4 separate regions of the Homo sapiens genome follow, and regions 1, 3 and 4 are each linked to region 2. The links are contacts of gene promoters, found by promoter capture Hi-C in blood cells and fetal thymus (Javierre and others, 2016). All regions are on one chromosome and are shown on one strand. The core of a region is centred on a gene start or on the middle of the fragment in contact, and the rest is flanking DNA. Distances in the headings are between cores, read along the strand shown.

The links. The method cuts DNA at HindIII sites, captures the fragments that hold promoters and counts their contacts. A CHiCAGO score of 5 or more calls a contact.
Region 1: the fragment with the promoter of TFAP4 here is called in contact with the fragment with the promoter of SEC14L5 in region 2 in 1 of 17 cell types (neutrophils); the score reaches 5.4 in neutrophils.
Region 3: a contact is called between the fragment with the promoter of PAM16 here and the fragment with the promoter of SEC14L5 in region 2, in 3 of 17 cell types (neutrophils, fetal thymus and naive CD8 T cells). The highest score is 8.7, in neutrophils.
Region 4: the fragment with the promoter of CORO7 here is called in contact with the fragment with the promoter of SEC14L5 in region 2 in 2 of 17 cell types (neutrophils and M2 macrophages); the score reaches 10.0 in neutrophils.

What each region holds. Positions count from the first base shown.
Region 1 is chr16:4,270,460-4,274,855 of GRCh38, reverse strand. It overlaps TFAP4 (transcription factor AP-4), which reads left to right and starts at 1,833. Exons shown (of 7, transcript NM_003223.3): 1 at 1,833-2,198. The coding sequence starts at 2,110. RefSeq lists silencers at 889-1,538, 2,259-2,308, 2,669-2,828 and enhancers at 687-1,662, 1,959-2,008, 2,909-3,098, 2,640-3,616. The HindIII fragment of the contact is 8,835 bases long and covers 1-3,247 here.
Region 2 is chr16:4,955,650-4,960,417 of GRCh38, reverse strand. It overlaps SEC14L5 (SEC14 like lipid binding 5), which reads right to left and starts at 2,088. Exons shown (of 16, transcript NM_014692.2): 1 at 1,973-2,088; 2 at 1,032-1,145. The coding sequence starts at 1,094. RefSeq lists an enhancer at 1,561-2,096 and silencers at 1,900-2,195, 1,994-2,203. The HindIII fragment of the contact is 6,723 bases long and covers 1-4,768 here.
Region 3 is chr16:4,349,161-4,354,019 of GRCh38, reverse strand. It overlaps PAM16 (presequence translocase associated motor 16), which reads left to right and starts at 2,699. Exons shown (of 5, transcript NM_016069.11): 1 at 2,699-2,788. The coding sequence starts at 2,786. All of the region lies in intron 27 of CORO7-PAM16 (CORO7-PAM16 readthrough), which reads left to right. The HindIII fragment of the contact is 23,481 bases long and covers 1-4,859 here.
Region 4 is chr16:4,414,589-4,419,332 of GRCh38, reverse strand. It overlaps CORO7 (coronin 7), which reads left to right and starts at 2,737. Exons shown (of 28, transcript NM_024535.5): 1 at 2,737-2,874. The coding sequence starts at 2,815. CORO7-PAM16 (CORO7-PAM16 readthrough) reads left to right here and starts at 2,737. Exons shown (of 31, transcript NM_001201479.2): 1 at 2,737-2,874. The coding sequence starts at 2,815. LOC124903635 (a long non-coding RNA gene) reads left to right here. Exons shown (of 3, transcript XR_007064963.1): 3 at 2,372-2,608. The HindIII fragment of the contact is 33,533 bases long and covers 1-4,744 here.

The sequences.
Region 1 (4,396 bases), core at 584-3,083, 690 kb after region 2:
GCTTGTAATCCCAGCAATTTGGGAGGTAGAGGTAGGATTCCTTGAGTCCCAGGAGTTCAAGACCAGGCTGGGCAACACAGTGAGACTCCTATCTCTATTTGTTGAAAAACAGTAAAAAGGTTTTTTTTTTTTTTTTTTTTTGAGACGGAGTTTCACTCTTGTTGCCCAGGCTGGAGTGCAATGACATGATCTTGGCTCACTGCAACCTCCACCTCCCGGGTTCAAGCGATTCTCCTGCTTCAGCCTCCCGAGTAGCTGAGATTACAGGCATGTGCCACCAGGCCCCCGGCTAATTTTGCATTTTTAGTAGAGACGGGGTTTCTCCATGTTGGTCAGGCTGGTCTCGAACTCCCGACCTCAGGTGATCCACCCGCCTCAGCCTCCCAAAGTGCTGAGATTACAGGCGTGAGCCAACGCGCCCAGCCGAAAGTTTTTTTTTTTTTTTTTTTTTTTTAAGTAGAAACATAGTAAGCCTTCCAGAGACTTTTTTTTGGTCAAGTGGTCTGGGATCTCTCCTTAGAGAAACTGCCTAACAGGTTGCTTCAAGGATTGGAGAGCGTGTAAGCAAAACTGCTCGGCATCCACCGGGTGCTGGCAACATCTAATAACAATATTTCCCAATAATAACAGTAACTATTGTTACTAGTAGGAATAAGTCAAATTAGGAGGCGCGATTTAGGCGGAACCTGGAAGGCGGTGGGCAGGATCCAGGACATTCCAAGGCAGGCGTGGGCTTCCTGAGCCAGGAGCCAACCCTCCAGGAGCCAGGGGAGGGCCTGGGGCCGGAAGGTGCGGCGTGCGAGCGGAGGACGGAAGCTCGCCGCCAGGGTCCCCGTCCCTGCCCCAAGTCGTCACCCCCTCTTGGGGAGCGCATCCTGGCGGAGGGGCAAGTCCCACACGGGCTTTGTTATGAATGGGAAGCTGCAGCCTTCAGCCCGCGGAGGGAACAGTGCGGGTCTGGGGGAATAGCAGGGGACCCGGCAGCAACCAGCAGACCTCCCCGCAGCGCTGGCAGCCTGCGCCCGGGGGCCGCTGCCGTTCAGGCCCGCCTCCACCCTCCCCTCCCTGCCGGGGCCCCCGGCTTCCTAGGGCGGCCCCAGCATCCGAGGCGCCCTTTGCCGTCCCGTCGCCGGGTCCAAGATTCCCAGGATCCGGAGTCCCGGCCGTGCGGCCAGCTAAGCAAGGCGGGAGGGAGGAAGCTGGCCGGCCTCCGAAGTCAGCCCCGAGTTACATGTGGGAAGCGGTGGCTGTGACGCAAGTTTCCAGGGGGCCCTGGGCTCGGCTCGAAGGGAGCACACCGGAGAGGCTCCGCTCCGTGCAGCTGCAATGGTGAAAAAGCAGAAGCCCCAAGCGCGAACCCCAGGCCGCCTTCCTTGCTGCCGCTGCACGCCCGACCCAGCCGCGCCCCCTCCTCCCTGCGGGCCGGCCGAGCGCGCGGACCCTGCTCTGGGCCAGTCGCTGCTGGACTCCGGGCTGCACGGGCTGGGCTCCCTGCGCGGTGGCTGGCCTTTTTTTTTTTTTTTTTGCAACGCTTGCCAACCTGTCAGCTGATGGACCTCATCACCCATAGTGGCGCATGTAGCTCGGCCGCAGCTCGCTCCATTCACGCCGCGCCCCGCAAGCCCGCCCGCGGCCCCCGGCCCCCTGCGCCCCGCGAGAGGCCTGCAGACCCCGGTTGCAGCCGGTCCCCGGGGGCCCGCGCCCCTCTCGCCCCGGCCTCGCGCCGCCCGGGGGGCGCTGCAAATAGTCCTTTGTTTACATGCAATTCCTTACTCCGCGGAAGGAGGCCGGGGGAGTGCTGAGTTTTCACCAGCTGTTTCCCGCCTTGAAACAGACATCTGATCAGCTGCAAACACACACACACACACACACACACACACACACACACACACACACACACATACACACGCCCGGGGAGGCAGGCCGGAGAGACCTCCCTCCCGCCCCTCCCGCCCGCCTCCCTCCCCTCGCCGCCGCCGCCGCCGCCAGCATCTGGGACCGGCCGATTCTGCACCTCCGTCCGGCGCTGCCCTTTGATTCGGATTTCCATCTTGCATTCTCCGGCTGATCGCGGGACCTGGCTCGTGCAGAGGAGGGGGGCCGATCGCTATGGAGTATTTCATGGTGCCCACTCAGAAGGTGCCCTCTTTGCAACATTTCAGGAAAACAGAGAAAGAAGTGATAGGAGGGCTCTGTAGGTGTGTACTCCTCCTCCCCCCACCCCCTTCCTACCACTGCAGCCCCCGGCCAGCCCGCCCGGGCGGGCGCGCGTGTGCGCACGCATGGCCCGCGCCGCCGACCCCGCTAGCCTTTCTTAGCTGCCGGGACGGCTGCAGCCCCACACGCCGGGTCCGCGCCGCCCCGGGACCCTCCTTCCTTGGAGCATGGGGGCCCCAAGCGGCCCCGGCCACTTTTGTCCGCTGCAGGCGGGCGAGTCGCGACGTTTGTAAATTGCAAACAGACCCACGTGGTTCTGCAGCAGTCCCGGCCATGCTTGGTGCTGGTGGCCTTCCCCCCCGCGCTTCCTCTTTCCCCCTCCTGCGGCGGCTTCCTTCCTCTCCTTCCTTCCTCGGGATCTGAGGTCGTCCCCATCCAAGGGGGTCTGGGGGCCCGGGGCGCGCGTGGGGGTGTAGCTAGGGCGGCTACAATGCAGCCATGCCGCGGCTCCCGGCGCGGGGTGGGGGCGGGGAGCCGGGCACTGTGCGTGTTTGCAGAGCGGGGCTGCAGCGGGGTCGGGGGCGTGCTCGCGTGTGGGTGTTGGGGGTGGGCGGACCCCGAGGGGCCCGCGCGGCCGGTAGGGGCGCCGCGGCCCGGGGCACGTTGGCTGCCGCTCGCTCGCCCGCCCGCGCCCGGGCGCTGTTTACTAGCGAGGCCTGGACGTGACTCTGCAGCCCTCTTGGAGTAGGCGGACCTCTGCGCGCGGCCTCGCGGGAGCTGTAGTTCTCCGTGTCCTGCTGGTGCAGCATTGTGGGATTTGTAGGCGCTCCTGGGCCACGCTTTCCCTGCACAAAGCTCGGCCCCCGCGGGCACGATGGGCAAGGCAGGCCAGGTGGGCAGGCCATTTGGGGAAGGGACACCTGAGGCCGCCCCTAGCCTCGCAGGGCAGCTTCCCGCCGCACGTGGGTTTCCTCTGCAAACTTTCCCATCCAACGCCCCTCCCCCCTGCCGTAAACCGAAAGCGTCGGGTCCCCCAGCCGGGTGGGTGGCCCGAGGTCCGCAGGCCTCCCCAGAAGCCACTTTGCAAGCTTTGGTCCTAGGTTGCTCTAAACCCAAAGGGTGATGGACTCAAGGACCACACACAGCCAAACCACCCCGCACACTTCTTAAAATGCACATGCCTGGAACTCTGATCGCTGGGGCCCGGACATCTGCATTTTGAACGACCCCCTGGGCGTGGTGTGGGGGAGGTGGGCGTTCTACGGCGTGCGCAAGTTTGGGACCTGTGGCCCCTTTCCTGCCGCGCTGCTCCAGGAGCGAAATGGCTCCCCAGGGCTGGAGCCACGTGCTCTGCCGCCCGAGGCAGTCTGGGCGGGGATTGAGGGAGGAGGAGCCCGCCGGTGTGGCACAGGCTGGTGGACGCTAGCGCCTGCAGAATCCGGCCTGGAGGGAAGGTTGCTGCACACGTGTAGACACTCCTGCCCAACCCTCTGCCCCGGGGGTCCCCACCTTAAGGCTACTCTGAAGTTCCCAGTCAATACCTAGACTTGGGCCAGTTGATGGGTTTGGCAGCTGGCAGGGATGCCCCGAGGGCTGGCCCTTGCACGAGGCCCACCTGGAGGGCCCAGTAATAATAAGTAAAAAAAATTCTTGAGCTCTTTTTATGTTCTGGGGACTCACTTTGCTAGAATTTTCTCACTGAGTTGTCATAATCTTTCTATGAGTCAAAAGTGTCTTTTGATTCCGCTTAAAGAGGCGGACACAGAGACTGGAGAAGGGACCACTACAGCAGGTGGTGGAACTGGAACTTGAACCCTTGTCCTGGGGTTGCTGCTGCTGCAGGGCTGGGCTGGGCAGCGCGGAGGTGCAGTTGAGCCGCTGTGCCTACTGGAGAAGACATTCTGGGCCTGATCCTGGGCAGGGTTGGGGGGCCCTCTGGCTGCCATGCCTGGGCCTTGGGTGAGTCCTCTCAGGGCCCCCTGAGATTCTGGCTTCAATTTATCCCTGCCCCAAGCGTTCCTTTGGAGCATACCAGCAGTCCCCCAGGGTAGCTGGATCTTGGTAGGCCAAGGACTTGAAGGTGTAGGGCCTTCGTCCAGGGTTGGACATGGCAACGTCCATTGCAAGACAGTTGTCAGCTGTGCATTAGGCATGGAGTTGGGGGTCCCTGGATTTGTTTACCTTCAGTAGGGGTTGCAGGGTGAGGTGGGAAGCCAGTCTGGGATCAAATGTGTTCATT
Region 2 (4,768 bases), core at 839-3,338:
GTTAAGCAGTCAGTGCTGGGGTGGGACAGATGGGGGTGGATGCTAATGTTTCTTACACTTTCAATACATTAATTTACAAGACTTCGGTGTAATAACAGCGACAGCATATTTTGTGAGCTCCTACTGTGTGCCCGGCACACAGCAAGGAGCACCAAGAACTATCTCATTTACTCCTCCCCGCAACCTTGTAGCATTGTCCCCATGTTACTGAGCAGGGAAGTGAAGTGCTCAGAGGCAGAGGGATGCAGCCAAGAAGGAATTCCACATCCACCTATGTCCAGCTTCTGCCCCCAGGGTGAAAAGACCAGTGATCCTGGGGGCCAAGGATCTGGCAGCCAATTCTAGGCCTCCAACTGACTTGCTGCACAACACAGAGTACATCACAAAGCAAACCTACCCACTCATTCTCTCTCTCGTCCCAGTGTCAGCTTCCTTAAAGGGGAGGGAAGGGGGTCTGTGAGCAGAAGGAGGGCTCTGTGGTCAAATGTGAGGTTCTAGAGTCTCCTTTGTGGGGATCTCAGCCCCGACTCCACCTCTGCGTAGATACAGAACTTAGTGTCATCCCTTCACCTGTCAAAGCCTCAGTTTCATGGAGGTTACATGGGAAAATAACAGCTATCGGGAATTGGAAGAAACATCATCTGTTAAGACAGTGCTGTAAACATTCAATAAACAGCTGTTGTCATTATCACCACCATTCCATTTATCACTGTGATATGCCATTATATGAAATGACAGCAGTGGCTTGGCCCCTGATACCTTTGTTTTCTATCAGGAGAGTCTAAAGTAAGGGAGCAGGTCAGCTTCAACAAGGAGAAGGAAGAAAGACTTTGTGTTTTGGTCACTGGGCCGAGGATAGGATGGTTGGACAGAGAGGTCACTGGATAGAAGTTAAACCCACCAGGTCAGCTGAGTAACTCACTAATTCCTTCTGATCTGGGAGTCTAAGGAGCTCCGTCTTCCTACCGCCATAGCTGATCTCAAGCCCCTCCAACTGTCACATGGGGGCCCAAGAATCAGGAGTCACTCACCGCCATGACCAGCTCAAACGGGTACTTGTAGACTCGGACAGGAGACTGGTATCTTTGCACCATGTTCACGCTGGAGCACCAATGGAGGTCACCAGGCAGGGGTGTGCACAGAGCCTGGGGCGAGGAGTGACTGGTGAGGTTGCAGCTCCCACCTCGGGAAGCAGGGACACCACCCACCAAGTGTAAGGGGCAGCCCCTGGCCCCACCCACACAGCTCCCCAGCCTTCAAATTGAGAAGGCTGATATTCCCCCCAAATTACTCCAGGCCAAGCCCCAACAGCTTCCCTGTCATTAGCCATGGCCCCAGACCACGCTCAGCCTTCCAAGAGCAGTCAGCACCCCCAAACTTTCCTCTACCCCCACCCCTTCACACTGAGGGCCCCCAGAAGCCTTACGGCCACCCACACAGACACACACACATTTGCAATTCTTACACTCCCACGGTTCTATTCACGCATGCACCCCGCAGCTTGCCACAGACTTGCTGGCCTACAGCCCACCCCCGAGTCTCCTTGCACCTGCCCTCCCATTTTCCTCCCAGACACCCTGACATACACACACAGCCTTCACCACATTTCACAGGCACTGTCTCTATCACACACATGTACACACGCAGGTTTCCCTCCCACACGGGACTGCTTTTGCACACGCCTCCAACTTTGCACACACACCCTGAAACACGCACCTGCCCAGCTCCACGCACGCAATTCCCCTGGTGTGCACAGACGTGCACACACGCACACACACCCGTGCGCACATGCACACACACGTACACACACGTAGAGGCAATCGCACACGCATGCACACACAGGTCCCCGCAGCTTTGCTCACCCTCGCCCTCGGGAGCCTTTGGGAATGCAGCCTAGGGGAAGTGCCCTGGAAGCCCGCCTGGCTCGGGAGCTGAGCGCTTACCCGCGCCCGCCTGGCCTGGAGCGCAGTACCTGAGGCGGGGCCCGATCGCGGATCTCTAGCCTGGTGTGTCCCGCCTTGAACACCCTGCGGCCAGGACAGCTGTGGAAGGCCGGAGGGGCGGGAGCGAAACCTGCCGGGCCGAGAGAGCTCCAGGACCCGGGACAGCGGAGATCCTGGCCTGGCCCCGCCCCTGACCTGGTCCCGCCCACGTCCCCGGCCATGGCCCCGCCCAGGTTGGCCCTGCCCCCTAACTGGTCCCGCCCCACTCTGGCCCCGCCCCAGGCGAACTCCCCCTGGTTCTAGCCCCGCCCCTTATTTTTAGATGTCGCTTGTTTGACCACGCCCTCAGCCCAGTCCTTTCTCTAGATTGGTCACACCTCAGGAAGTCCCCTCCCCCTTCACTGGCCCCGCCCTCCAAGGCCCTCAGCCTCGGGGAATGGTAGGCCACAGGACGACCCCGCCCTAATCTAGCTCTGCCTCCAAGCAGACCCTGAGTCCGGGCCGACCCGCCCCGGACCCTGCGTCTGGCCGACAGTACTGTTTACATTTGTAGATAAGCAGAATTTACGCTTTTCTTGCTCAGATTAACCTCGCCCTCGTCCCGCTGCACTTGGGTCTGACTGGCTCCTCCACCTGTCCCCGCCCCACGGCCCGCGCATGCACCTTCGCCCACTCTGCACACCTTCACAGAGCGCCTGCTGGGGGTCAGCCCTGTCCAGGCGCTGGAGAGCCGCCGGTGAGCCACACGCACGAATCCCTGCCCTCGTGGAGTTTATACTACGGTGGGGAGACAGACACTCAATAAATAAGGCAAATATATGATGTGTGAGGTAGTGAAAAACTCTAACGAGAGAAAAATAAGCAGGAAAGGGGCTCAAGGAGCCAGCGGAGAGAAAGGACAATTTAAAACAGGTAAGAGGCCGGGCGCCATGTCTCACGCCTGTAATCCAAACACTTTAGGAGGCGGAAGCGGGAGGACCGCTTGAACCCAGGAGTTGGAGACCACCCTGGGTAACATAGCAAGAACCTATCTCTACAAAAAAATTTTTTTTTAGTTTAGGCAGGGCGCGGTGGCTCACGCCTGTAATCCCAGCACACTGAGAGGCCAAGGCAGGCAGATCAGCTGAGGTCAGGAGTTCGAGAACAGCATGGCCAATATGAGGAAACCCCGTCTCTACTAAAATACAAAATTAGCCGGGCATGGTGGCGTATACCTGTAATCTCAGCTACTCGGGAGGCTGAGGCAGGAGAATCGCTTGAATCAAGGAGGCGGAGGTTGCAGTGAGCCGAGACTGCGCCACTGCACTCCAGCCTGGGCAAGAAGAACAAAGCTCCGTCGCAAAAAAAAAAAAAAAAAATTAGCCAGGCGTGTTGGCACGTGCCTGTGGTCCCAGCTACTCAAGAGGCTGAGGCAGGAGGATCCCTTGAGCCCAGAAGTTCAAAGCTGCAGTGAGCTGTTACCTGGCCACTGCACTCCAGCCTGGGCAACAAAGCAAGACTCGGTCTCAAAATAAATAAGTAAATAAATAAATAAAACAGGGAGTAAGGGGGCCTCCCTTGGGAGAGTGACATTTGTCCATCACTCTCATTTTAACTCACACTTAACCCCTTTCAGCCCTCCCAGGACTCCCAGGGGACCAACCTTGCTCCCAGAAGTCCTGCCTTGCCACTCCTCATCTGTTTAGCCTACAAGACCCAAGAAATTGGCTCTGGACAGTGCTGTCATCCATGTATTCACTCATTCAACATTTACTGAGCACCTACTACGTGCCACCGTGGGGTGAATTCACCCCTTCAAGCAGGGGAAGTCAGAGGTGGCCAGGGAGATGGACAACCCCTGATATATTTCAAGTATGTCACTGCACCCTGTGAAAATCACCTCTCTTCCCTTCCTAGCCTGCATCACATTCTAATATTGCATTTATTCGTTTTATATATCTGTGGGTTCCTGGAGGTCTCTCTCAGGAGACTGTGAGCTCCCTGAGGGCAGGGGCAGTGGCTGCCTTATTCAGCTGCCCGCATGTTGGGAAGGATCTTACTGGGGACCTGGCAGGCAGGCAGCAGGTGCCCAGCAGACTCTTGGCTTAGGTAATCAAGGGCGGAAATGGGACACAAAGTTCCCATCCCTGTCGCAAGGTGGCAGCAAATGATAGCCCATGGCTCCTGGAGTAACACAAGGGTGAGTAGGTGGGGGACATGGGATCCAGGGATGACTGTCCTAACCCGGGCTCATCCAGGAAATGCCCAGCTCTGCCCAGGCATCGCCACAGAGCAAAGTGAACGTTAACACCGTTAGCTGCTGTTACCACCACGAAAGGCGTTAAGTCCGCCTCTCCTGCTGCCCAACATTGAGGGAGGACAATGACTGCGTGGGAGACAGAGGTGTGACAGCCCTGCGGGTACAGAGAGCTCAAAGTGGAAACTGGGGCCTGGAGGGGAGTGAGAACCCCACTCCCTCCTCCTCCAGCCCCAGGGAAGGGAATTAATAACGCCACCAACACTCACTCCAGCTTTTTTTGGGTTTTGGGGTTTTTTTTTTACGTGGAGTCTTGCTCTGTTGCCCAGGCTGGAGTGCAGTGGCGCAGTCTCGGCTCACTACAACCTCCGCCTCCCAGGTTCAAGCAATTCTCCTGCCTCAGCCTCCCGAGTAGCTGGGATTACAGGCGCTTGCCACCACACCTGGCTAATTTTTGTATTTTCAGTAGAGACAGGTTTCATCATGTTGGCCAGGCTGGCCTCAAACTCCTGACCTCAGGTGATCCACCCGCCTCAGCCACCCAAAGTGCTGGGATTACAGACATGAGCCACCACACCTGGCCCAGTTG
Region 3 (4,859 bases), core at 1,450-3,949, 610 kb after region 2:
GGAGTCAGAGGTTGCAGTGAGTCAAGATCCTGCCATTGCACTCCAGCCTGGGTGACAGAGCAAGACTCAGTCTCAAAAAACAAACAAACAAACAAAAAAACCTGTGGGACAGGAAGCAACTGGGATGCAGCGAGGCAGGGAATTCAGGGCCTGAGAAGGTGACTTTCAGCTAAGAGCCAAGACTTGAAGGCTGATGAGGAGCCAGCCAGGGAGAGAGCCACTTCCGAGGCAAGGAAGTACAATGTGGGCACAGAGAGAGGAATGTGGAGGCCAGGAGGAAGAGGAAGAAGGGCAGCGGTGTAGAGTAGGATTCCAGGTGGCCCAACTTTCATCCCACCATTTGCCGAATGCTGTGCGCCAGATGCTCTTCCAGGCGCTTGACATCTAACAGCAGAGAAGAGAGAGGAAATGCTTGCCCAAAAGGAACTCCCATTCTAGTGGAAGGAAACAGATTCTCAACAATAAACATAAAAATAAAGGGAGGCCAAGGTGGGAGGATTGCTTGAACCCAGGAGTTTGAGGTCAGACTGGGCAACATAGGGGAACCCTTGTCTCTACAAAGAATACAAACATTAGCTGGGCGCGGTGGCTCACGCCTGTAATCCGAGCACTTCGGGAGGCCAAGGCAGGCGGATCACGAGGTCAGGAGCACGAGACCATCCTGGCTAACACGGTGAAACCCCGTCTTTACTAAAAATACAAAAAATTAGCCGGACATGGTGGCCCATGCCTGTAGTCCCAGCTACTCAGGAGGCTGAGGCAAGAGAATCTCTTGAACCCAGGAAGCAGAGGTTGCAGTGAGCCGAGGTCATGCCACTGCACTCCAGGCTGGGCAACAGGGAGACGCTCTCAAAAAGACAAAAAACAAACATTAACCACATGTGTTGGCACATGCCTGTGGTCCCAGCTACTCAGAAAGCTGAGGTGAAAGTATCACTCAAGGCTGGAAGGTCAAGACTGCAGTGAGCCATGATCATGCTACTGTACTGCAGCCTGGGCAACAGAGTGAGACCCTATCTTGAAAAAAAAAAATTTTTTTTTGGCTGGGCACGGTGGCTTACACCTGTAATCCCAGCACTTTCGGAGGCTGAAGTGGGAGGATCACTTGAACCCAGGAGGTGGAGATCGCAGTGAGCCAAGATTGGGCCACTGCTCTCCAGCCTGGGTGACAGAGCAAGACTTCATCTCAAAAAAAAAAAAAAAAGGAAAAATAATTTAAAAATAAAAAACCGGTTGGGCACAGTGTCACATGCCTATAATCCCAGCACTTTGGGAGGCTGTGGCGGGTGGATCATTTGAGACCAGTAGTTCAAGACCAGCCTGGCCAACATGGTGAAACCCTGTCTCTACTAAAAATTCAAAAATTAATGGGGCATGGTGGTCCATGCCTGTAATCCCAGCTACTCAGGAGGCTAAAGCATGAGCATCGCCTGAACCTGGGAGGTGGAGGTTGCAGTGAGGCAGGATTGTGCCACTGGACTCCAGCCTGGGCGACAGGGTGAGACCCTGTCTCAAAATGATAAATAAAATAAATAAGTAAATTATGTGGTATGGTAGAGGGTGATCAGAGTCTTGGAAGAAAAATAGAGACAAGAAGGGAGGATAAGCCAGTCACAAAAGGCTGCACATTGTATGATTCAATTTCTTCTTTTTTTTCATTTTTCATTTTTACCTTTTTTTTTTTTTTTTTTTTTTTTGAGGCAGGGCCTGACTCTGTCACCCAGGCTGGAGTGCAGTGATCACAGCTCACTGCAGCCTGTACCTCCCGGGCTCAAGAGATCCACCACTCAGCCTCCCAAGTAGCTGGGATTACAGGCACCTGCCACCACACCCGGCTAATTTTTGTATTTGTAGAGATGGGGTTTCACCATGTTGCCCAGCCTGGCCTTGAGTTCCTGACCTCAAGCGATCCACCTCGGCCTCCCAAAGTTTTGAGATTGCAGGCATGAGCCACCACGCCTGGCTTGTATGATTCCATTTCTATGAAATGTCCGGAACCTGTGAATCCATAGAGAGAAAAATGAGTGGTTGACAGGGGCTGGGGGAGGGGGCTGGGGAGTGACTAATGGGTGATGAAAACGTTCTGGAACTAATAGTGGTGACAGTGGCACAGCTCTGTGAATAAAAGGCATTGGACTGTGCACTTGAAAATCATGAAATCTACAGTGTATGGATTATATCTCAATAAAGCTGTTACTTTTTTCATTCATGGAGGGCAAGTCACGGCGTTTTAAGGGGTCCAGGTGGGCCTCATTGAGGTGACATTTGAGCAAAGATTTGAAGAAGGGAACGAGCTTCTCAGGCAGGAGGAATGTGGATGAAACCTATTTTGAAGTTTTCTATTTTCTAAAGTATTTTTGAGAATTTAGCATCCTACTCCATATTATGTTCATTGATTTCATATAATGTTGCATTCCCAAATATTTTGGCAAAATCAAGGGCAGAAATCGCCCCACGTCTGACCGATGTGCTTAGCTGCTCCAGCGCACTGGGGTAAGCACGCGGGCAATTGAGACTCCCGGTAACGCCCCTTGCCCTCCCAAGCCCGCCCCCAGTTATCCAGAGCCCGACGCAGGCTCAGTCAAACCCCGCCTCCGACCCCGCCCCGAGCCGCTAAGACGCTCCCGGTGGCCCGCCCTTAGACTGAGGCAATGCGCATGCCCAGCGCCGTATCGCGCACGCGCTCTCTGCGGCTTTCCTTGACCTCTGACCCGCCGACCACGCTTGATCCCCGGCCGCGGGGCCAGGAAGTCGGAGTTTGAGCCCCGGAGGCAGAGCGGCTGCCATGGTGAGCCCCGAGTCGGGCGCTACCGGGGAGGGGAAGCCGAGTCGGGCCGGGGGCCGGGGGCCGGGCGGCGAGCTCCGGGCTGGGCGGCGGGCGCCGTGCGCCCCCTGCGTGCCCGGCGGGAAGCATGGTCTGGGGGCGTTGCACCCGGGGGAATCGAGGCCGGCAGCGGCGGCACCGGCGGCCTCAGGGCCAGGGAAAACCGTCTGCCTGGAAGAGGCCGGGCAAACGTGGTCGCGCTGTGCCTAGCCCGCGTGTGAGCGAGCAGCCGTGGGCAGCGGTGGAGCATGAGTCTGGCTGGTGAGCGCCTCCCCTGCCCTGGAACCTTACAGCGCTGCAGAGTCGATGTTGCTGCCCTGTTGTTATCCCCAGTGGAAAGCTGGCCTTTCCAGGGAAGTGGCTGACCTGGGACTTGAACTAGGCCCCGAGACACCGAGCACGGAGCGTTTGTGTGATATCGTTGGCACGTAGAGCCAGTCAACAGACCTGCGCCACACTGTCAGGTCACCTAGGGTAGCTTTAAAAGTGCAGGTTTGGCTGGGCGCGGTGGCTCACGCCTGTAATCCCAGCACTCTGGGAGGCCGAGGCGGCGGATCACGAGGTCAGGAGTTCGAGACCAGCCTGGCCAACATGATGAAACCCGGTCTCCACCAAAAAATTTAAAAAATTAGCCGGGTGGGGTGGTGCGCGCCTGTAGTCCAAGCTACCCGGGAGGCTGAGGCAGGACAGACGCTTGAACCCGCGAGACAGAGGTTGCAATGAGCCGAGATCCGCCAGTGCACTCTAGCCTGGGCGACAGGGTGAGACTGCGTCTCAAAAAAAAAATTATATATATGTATTATATATACCGTATACATTTATGTATACTACATATTATTATGTTATATATATTTTTATATATCATGTATTTTATATATATATATACACACACACACACATAATATATACATATGTTAGCCAGGCATGGTGGCACACACCTGTAATCCCAGCTGCTTGGGAAGTTGAGGCGCCAGTATCGCTTGAACCCAGGAGGCAGAGGCTGCAGTGAACCAAGATTGTGCCACTGCACTCCAGTCTGGGCGACAGGGCAAAACTCTCTCAAAAAGAAAAAGAGGGGGAAAAAAAAAGTTCAGGTTCTTGAGCTCTATCCCTGGAGGTTCTGCACACGTAAGTTCCCCAAGTGACTCTGTTGCAGCTGGTTCGGGGAGCCACTTCTTAACTAACATAGTAATAAGGATAATGTAACAGCTAACGGCGTACAAGTGCCAGCCCCTGAGCTAAGGCTTTATGTAGAGTCTCTCATTTAGTGTTTATGAAGTCCTGCTGTCATTGTCCTTATTTTACAGATAAGGAACCTGAGCCCCAGACAGTTTTGACTCCACCATAGTCATGCATCCCATGGTGTCAGAGACCTCTTTTGAGCCCAGCTCTGTCCCAAAACTCATGGGGTTTTTTTGGTTTGTTTTTTGAGATAGGATGTCTGTCTGTCGCCCCGGCTAGGATGCAGTGGAGCGATCCTAGCTCACTGCAGCCTTGAACTCCTAGGCTCAAGCCATCCTCCTACCTTAGACCCCCAAGTAGTTGGGCCTACAGGTGAGTGCCAGCACACCTGGCTAATTTTTAAATTTTATGTAGAGGTGGGGTCTTGCTGTGTTGCCCCAGATGGGTCTCCTAGGCTGGAGTACAGTGGTACGATCACAGCTCACTGCAGCCTCAACCTCCTGGGGCTTAGGTGATCCTCCCATTTCATCCTCCCCAGTAGCCTCAGCCTCCCGGGTAGTTGGGACAACAGGCATGCTCCACTATGCCCAGCTAATTTTTTGTATTTTTTGTAGAGATGCAGTTTCGCCATGTTGCCAGGCTGGTCTCAAACTTCTGGGCCCAAGCAGTCCTCCTGCCTCGGACTCCCAAAGTGCTGGGATTATAGGCGTGAGCCACCGCACCCAGCATGACAGTATATTAACAGGAAAAGAAAGTGCTGGCCGGGCACGGTGGCTCACACCTGTAATCCCAGCACTTTGGGGGTCTCAGGCGGGTGGATCACGAGGTCAGGAGATCAAGACCATCCTGGCTA
Region 4 (4,744 bases), core at 1,488-3,987, 540 kb after region 2:
TACTCGGGAGGCTGAGGTAGGAAAATCACTTTAATCCAGGAGACAGGTTATGGTGAGCTGAGATCACACCATTGCACTGCCTTGGCAACAGAGACTTTATCTCAAAAAAAAAAAAAAAAAAAAGGAGAAACAAATGTTACTTGCAAAGGGAACACAAAGTCGTAAGCGTTTCCCCCTCCACACTTTCATTTCACTAGACCAGCAATTCCACAGAGCACTTTCCCCATCTCCTGAGCTGTGGATATCTGTGAGAGCTGCGAAGGGGTTTAATGGTGCTCCCCGACAGTGCTGGGCTGAAGGCAATGGGAGACAAGACGGTCTCTGTGATTTCTTGCTGAAACCACTGATCATTTGAAGTATAATGGGACTGGCCAAGTTCATGGCTGCCAATGGCTGCAACTCTCCCATGTGAGCTCAGAGATCTTTTACAGAGGGCAGAAGAGCCTGAGCCCAGCTCTTCAGGGGCATGATTTGTCTTAAGTATAGCATTTTCTTTACTTCACACAGAGTATAGGACAATTCCAAGTGGGTGAGGAATGTGTGGTCCAGATGTTCTGGTCTGTGATGTCTGTAGCAGGTGCAGTTCCCTATGAAAGGGGATGATGAGCTGTGCCTCGGTCGCCTAGGATCCAGTGGGACCACTGTCCTGATGATTTTCTTTCTTTCTTTTTTTTTTTGAGACAAAATCTCGCTTTTGTCTCCCATACTGGAGTGCAATGGCATGATCTCGGCTCATTGCAACCTCCACCTCCCGGGTTCAAGTGATTCTCCTGCCACAGCCTCCCGAGTAGCTGGGATTACAGGCACCTGCCACCACGCCTTGTATTTTTAGTAGAGACGGGGTTTCACCATGGTGGCCAGGCTGGTCTTGAACTCCTGACCTCAGGTGATCCACCCACCTCGGCCTCCCAAAGTGCTGGGATTATAGGCGTGAGCCACCATGCCCAGCCACTTGATGATTTTCTTTTTTTTTCTTTTTTTTTTTTTTTTTGAGACAGAGTCTCGCCCTGTCACCCAAGCTGGAGTTCAATGGCACGATCTCGACTCACTGCAACCTCCGCCTCCCGGGTTCAAGCAGTTCTCTGCCTCAGCCTCCCAAGTAGCTGGGATTACAAGCACCCACCACCACGCCCAGCTAATTTTTATATTTTTAGGACAGACAGGGTTTCACCATCTTGGCCAGGCTGGTCTTGAACTCCTGACCTGGTGATCCACCCACCTTGGCCTCCCAAAGTGCTGGGATTACAGGCGTGAGCTACCGCGCCCGGCCAACCTGATGATTTTCTAAAAACCTTTTTGGACTGGGCGCAGTGGCTTATGCCTCTAATCCCAGCACTTTGGGAGGCTGAGGCAGGTGGATCACTTGAGGTCAGGAGTTTGAGACCAGCCTGGCCAACATGGCAAAATCCCATCTCTACTAAAAATACAAAAATTAGGAGTAGTGGCGCACACCTGTAATCCCAGCTGCTTGGGAGGCTGAAGCAGGAGAATCGCTTGAACTCAGGAGGTGGAGGTTGCAGTGAGCTGAGATGACACCACTGCACTCCAGCCTGGGCAACAGAGTGAGACTCTGTCTCAAAACAAACAAACAAAAAGCCTTTTCAATAAACCACAAGTGACTTTGGTTCACAGTAAATACACTTCTGCCCGAACTAAGATAAAATGTAAGCATTGCTTTTCAAACCTTAGAAATGCAAGAATCAGCTGGGTGCGTTGGCTCATTCCTATAATCCCCACACTTTGGCAGGCCAAGTTGGGAGGACTGCTTGAGTCTCGTTCGAGACCAGCCTGACCATCATGGTGAAACCCCGTCTCTTACTAAAAATAAAAAATTAGTTGGGCGCGGTGGCAGGCGCCTGTAATCCCAGCTATTCGGGAGGCTGAGGCAAGAGAATTGCTTGAACCCGCGAGGCAGAGGGTGCAGTGAGCTGAGATCGCGCCACTGCACTCCAGCCTGGGTGACAGGGACTCCGTGTCAAATAAATGAATAAATACTAAAGAAAAATTAAAAGCTATTATTATTATTATTTTTAGAGGCAGGGTCTCTTTCTGTCTCCCAGGCTGGAGTGCAGTGGCACGGTCACAGATAACTGCAGCCTCGACCTCTTGGGCTCAAGGGATACTCCTGCCTCAGTCTCCCAAAGTTCGGGATTACAGACCTGAGCCACCGCGCCTGGCCGGATGCAGAGCGCCTGGCCGGATGCAGAGGCTTTTGAGTAGGCCCGGTGGACAGGGATTTGCTTTAGACCTGGGCCCCTGTTCCCCCTCTGCCTCTTACCACTGGTGTGACCTGGGGACCGACAGTTTACACTCTCCTTTAGCCGGGGGTTTCCTGTCTCTGAAATGGAGCTAATTTCTCCCCTCTCTACAGGAAGAGGTAGATAGTGCTGGAAGGCGTGCTAGGTACACCGCAAAGACTCCACAGCAAATCCTGCACACAAAATCGCGAATGCTGCAGCCGAGACCCCACGCAAGCAAGCACCGCAGGAGACGTGGGCTGACAGCTGCGCCCCACGTGACCTCCCACCCGCGCCAGTCCGTCCCCTCGGTATCAGGGCGTGGCCTCGCGGGGCGGCCGTACCTGGATTGGCCGGGAGGCGGGACCGGTGGTGCGCGCGCGAAAGGAGAGGGGCTTGGGGGCGTGGCCCAGGGGGCCGGAGACGGCTGCGATTGGCAGTGGGGCGCGCCGGGGGCGTGACCGCGGCATTGGGTCCCGGGTGGGGCCGAGGCAGCGGGAGTCGCGGTTGCTCAGCGTGCACCTGAGACCCGACGCCCGGGGTCCTCGAAGACGCGTCCGCCGCCGTGCCCGTCGCCATGAACCGCTTCAGGGTGTCCAAGTTCCGGCACACCGAGGCTCGGCCGCCCCGCCGCGAGGTGAGTCCGGCCCGAGGACCGGGCGCTGTCGCCTCGGGCCCCGTCCGGCTGCCCCTCCCCCTGCCCGGACCCCACAGGGGTGCCCTCCAGGGCCGTCTGGAACCCCGAGACCTCCATCCCCGGGGAACCCCCCTTCAGGCCAGGGCCCCGGCGTCCGGGCCGTTTCGTCGCCGCCGGAGGGCAGAGTCCGGCACTCCCGTGACTCGCTCTGGCGCTCGGTGACCCTGGCGGTCTGCCCGCCTCGCCCACCTCGCCCCGGGACCCCCGAGGCGGCGCAGCCCTCCTAGCCGGGGCCCAGGCCTGCGAGGCCGCCTGCCTTCCCAGCTTCCGGTCGGCCTCGCCGGGAGCCGGGGCTCGGGGCGCTGCCGGCGCCTGGCTCCTCCTCCCTGCCGCCCCGGGTCGCCCCTGCCCCTGGCTGGGCTGTGGGGAGACGCCCCTCTCTCCTCTGGCCCCGGCGAGCCCAAGTGTGTCAGTGGTGGGGAGGGAGCCCCTCGGCCGCACGCGCCCCTCCCTCGGGTTTCCGCCGGTGCTTCCTCCTCTCGCCGCTGGCGCAAGCTCTTTCTTTATCTCGGTGATGCTGCCACGGCTGGGTGGGGCCTGGGGAAGCCTGAGCAGGTGGAGCCCCAAAGAATTGCTGAGCCAGGTGCCGGGAGACCCTTCGGACCCCCGAAACGGCAGGAGGACTGATGAGGGGTGCGCCTTGGAAACGATGTCAGCTCTGCTCTTCCGCTTTCCGTGTTATTTGTAAGGCCTGGGAGTGTCCTCCGATAACTGGGCCTAGGAGTTGACCTCAAGTGACCCCATCAGGGTCCCAGAGCAAGTCAGGGCAGTCTGGGTAGAGGTTCCGTTTTTGTAGTGTGGACTATATTTCCTCTGCTTCCACTTTATGCTGTGCTAAGCTGCTGGAGACATCCCGGTGAACACAACGGCATTTTCCTTCCCCTGTGGCACTTGTAGCCTCATGAGGGAGACAGCAAGCAGACAAACAAGAGCATTGGAGGTTTTCATAACGACATTGAAGAACACACATGAGGGACTGGGATGGAGAATGGAGGGGGCCAGTCTCAGTAGCGTGGTCAGGAAAGGCTGCCTGGAGTAGATGGCATTTTAGCTGAGGCCAGAAGGGTGAGAATTGAGAAAGAGCCTGGTGGAGAAATGGAAAGTGAGCATGAGTGGATGGAGGGGATGGCCGGAGCAGTATGGTGACAGATGAGTCCAGAGTGGTCCTGCAGAACCCAAGGGCCACCGGAAGAAGTTGGGTTTTATTCTGATTGCAGTGCAGAGCCATTGAAAAGTTAGGGGGAGGGGCTGGATACCATGACTCACGGTAATCCCAGTACTTTGGGTGGACTGCTTTGAGCTCAGGAGTTCGAGACCAGCCTGGGCAACATTGCGAAACCCCTCTGAACAACAAGTTAAAGAAAAAAAAATTAGCCAGGTGTGGTGACTCACTCCCGTGGTCCCAGCTACTTGGGAGGCTGAGGTTGGAGGATCTCTTGAGCCGAGGAAGTGGAGGTTGCAGTGAGCCGAGATTGTGCCACTACACACCAGCCTGGGCAATAGAGTGAGACACTGTCTCAAAAAAAGAAAAAAACAAACAAGAAAAGTTAGGAGGAGGTACCTAGGTTTGCATCAAGACAGCCGGTGGCTCTGAGTGCAGTTAAGTACTGCTTGGAGGGGTCTGGAGAATACTTGAGGGGCCCTAATTCTTGCTCCTGGGTGGGCCTTAGTCCAGCAACATAAACAGATAGGCATGGAACTACAGACTGTAGGGAGAGCTTAAAACAGTTTATGTTAGGGAGGCGGGAGAACAGGTGATCTGTTCTTTTCAGAGATATTTGCAGTCACTGTGTTTATACAGTAAACATGA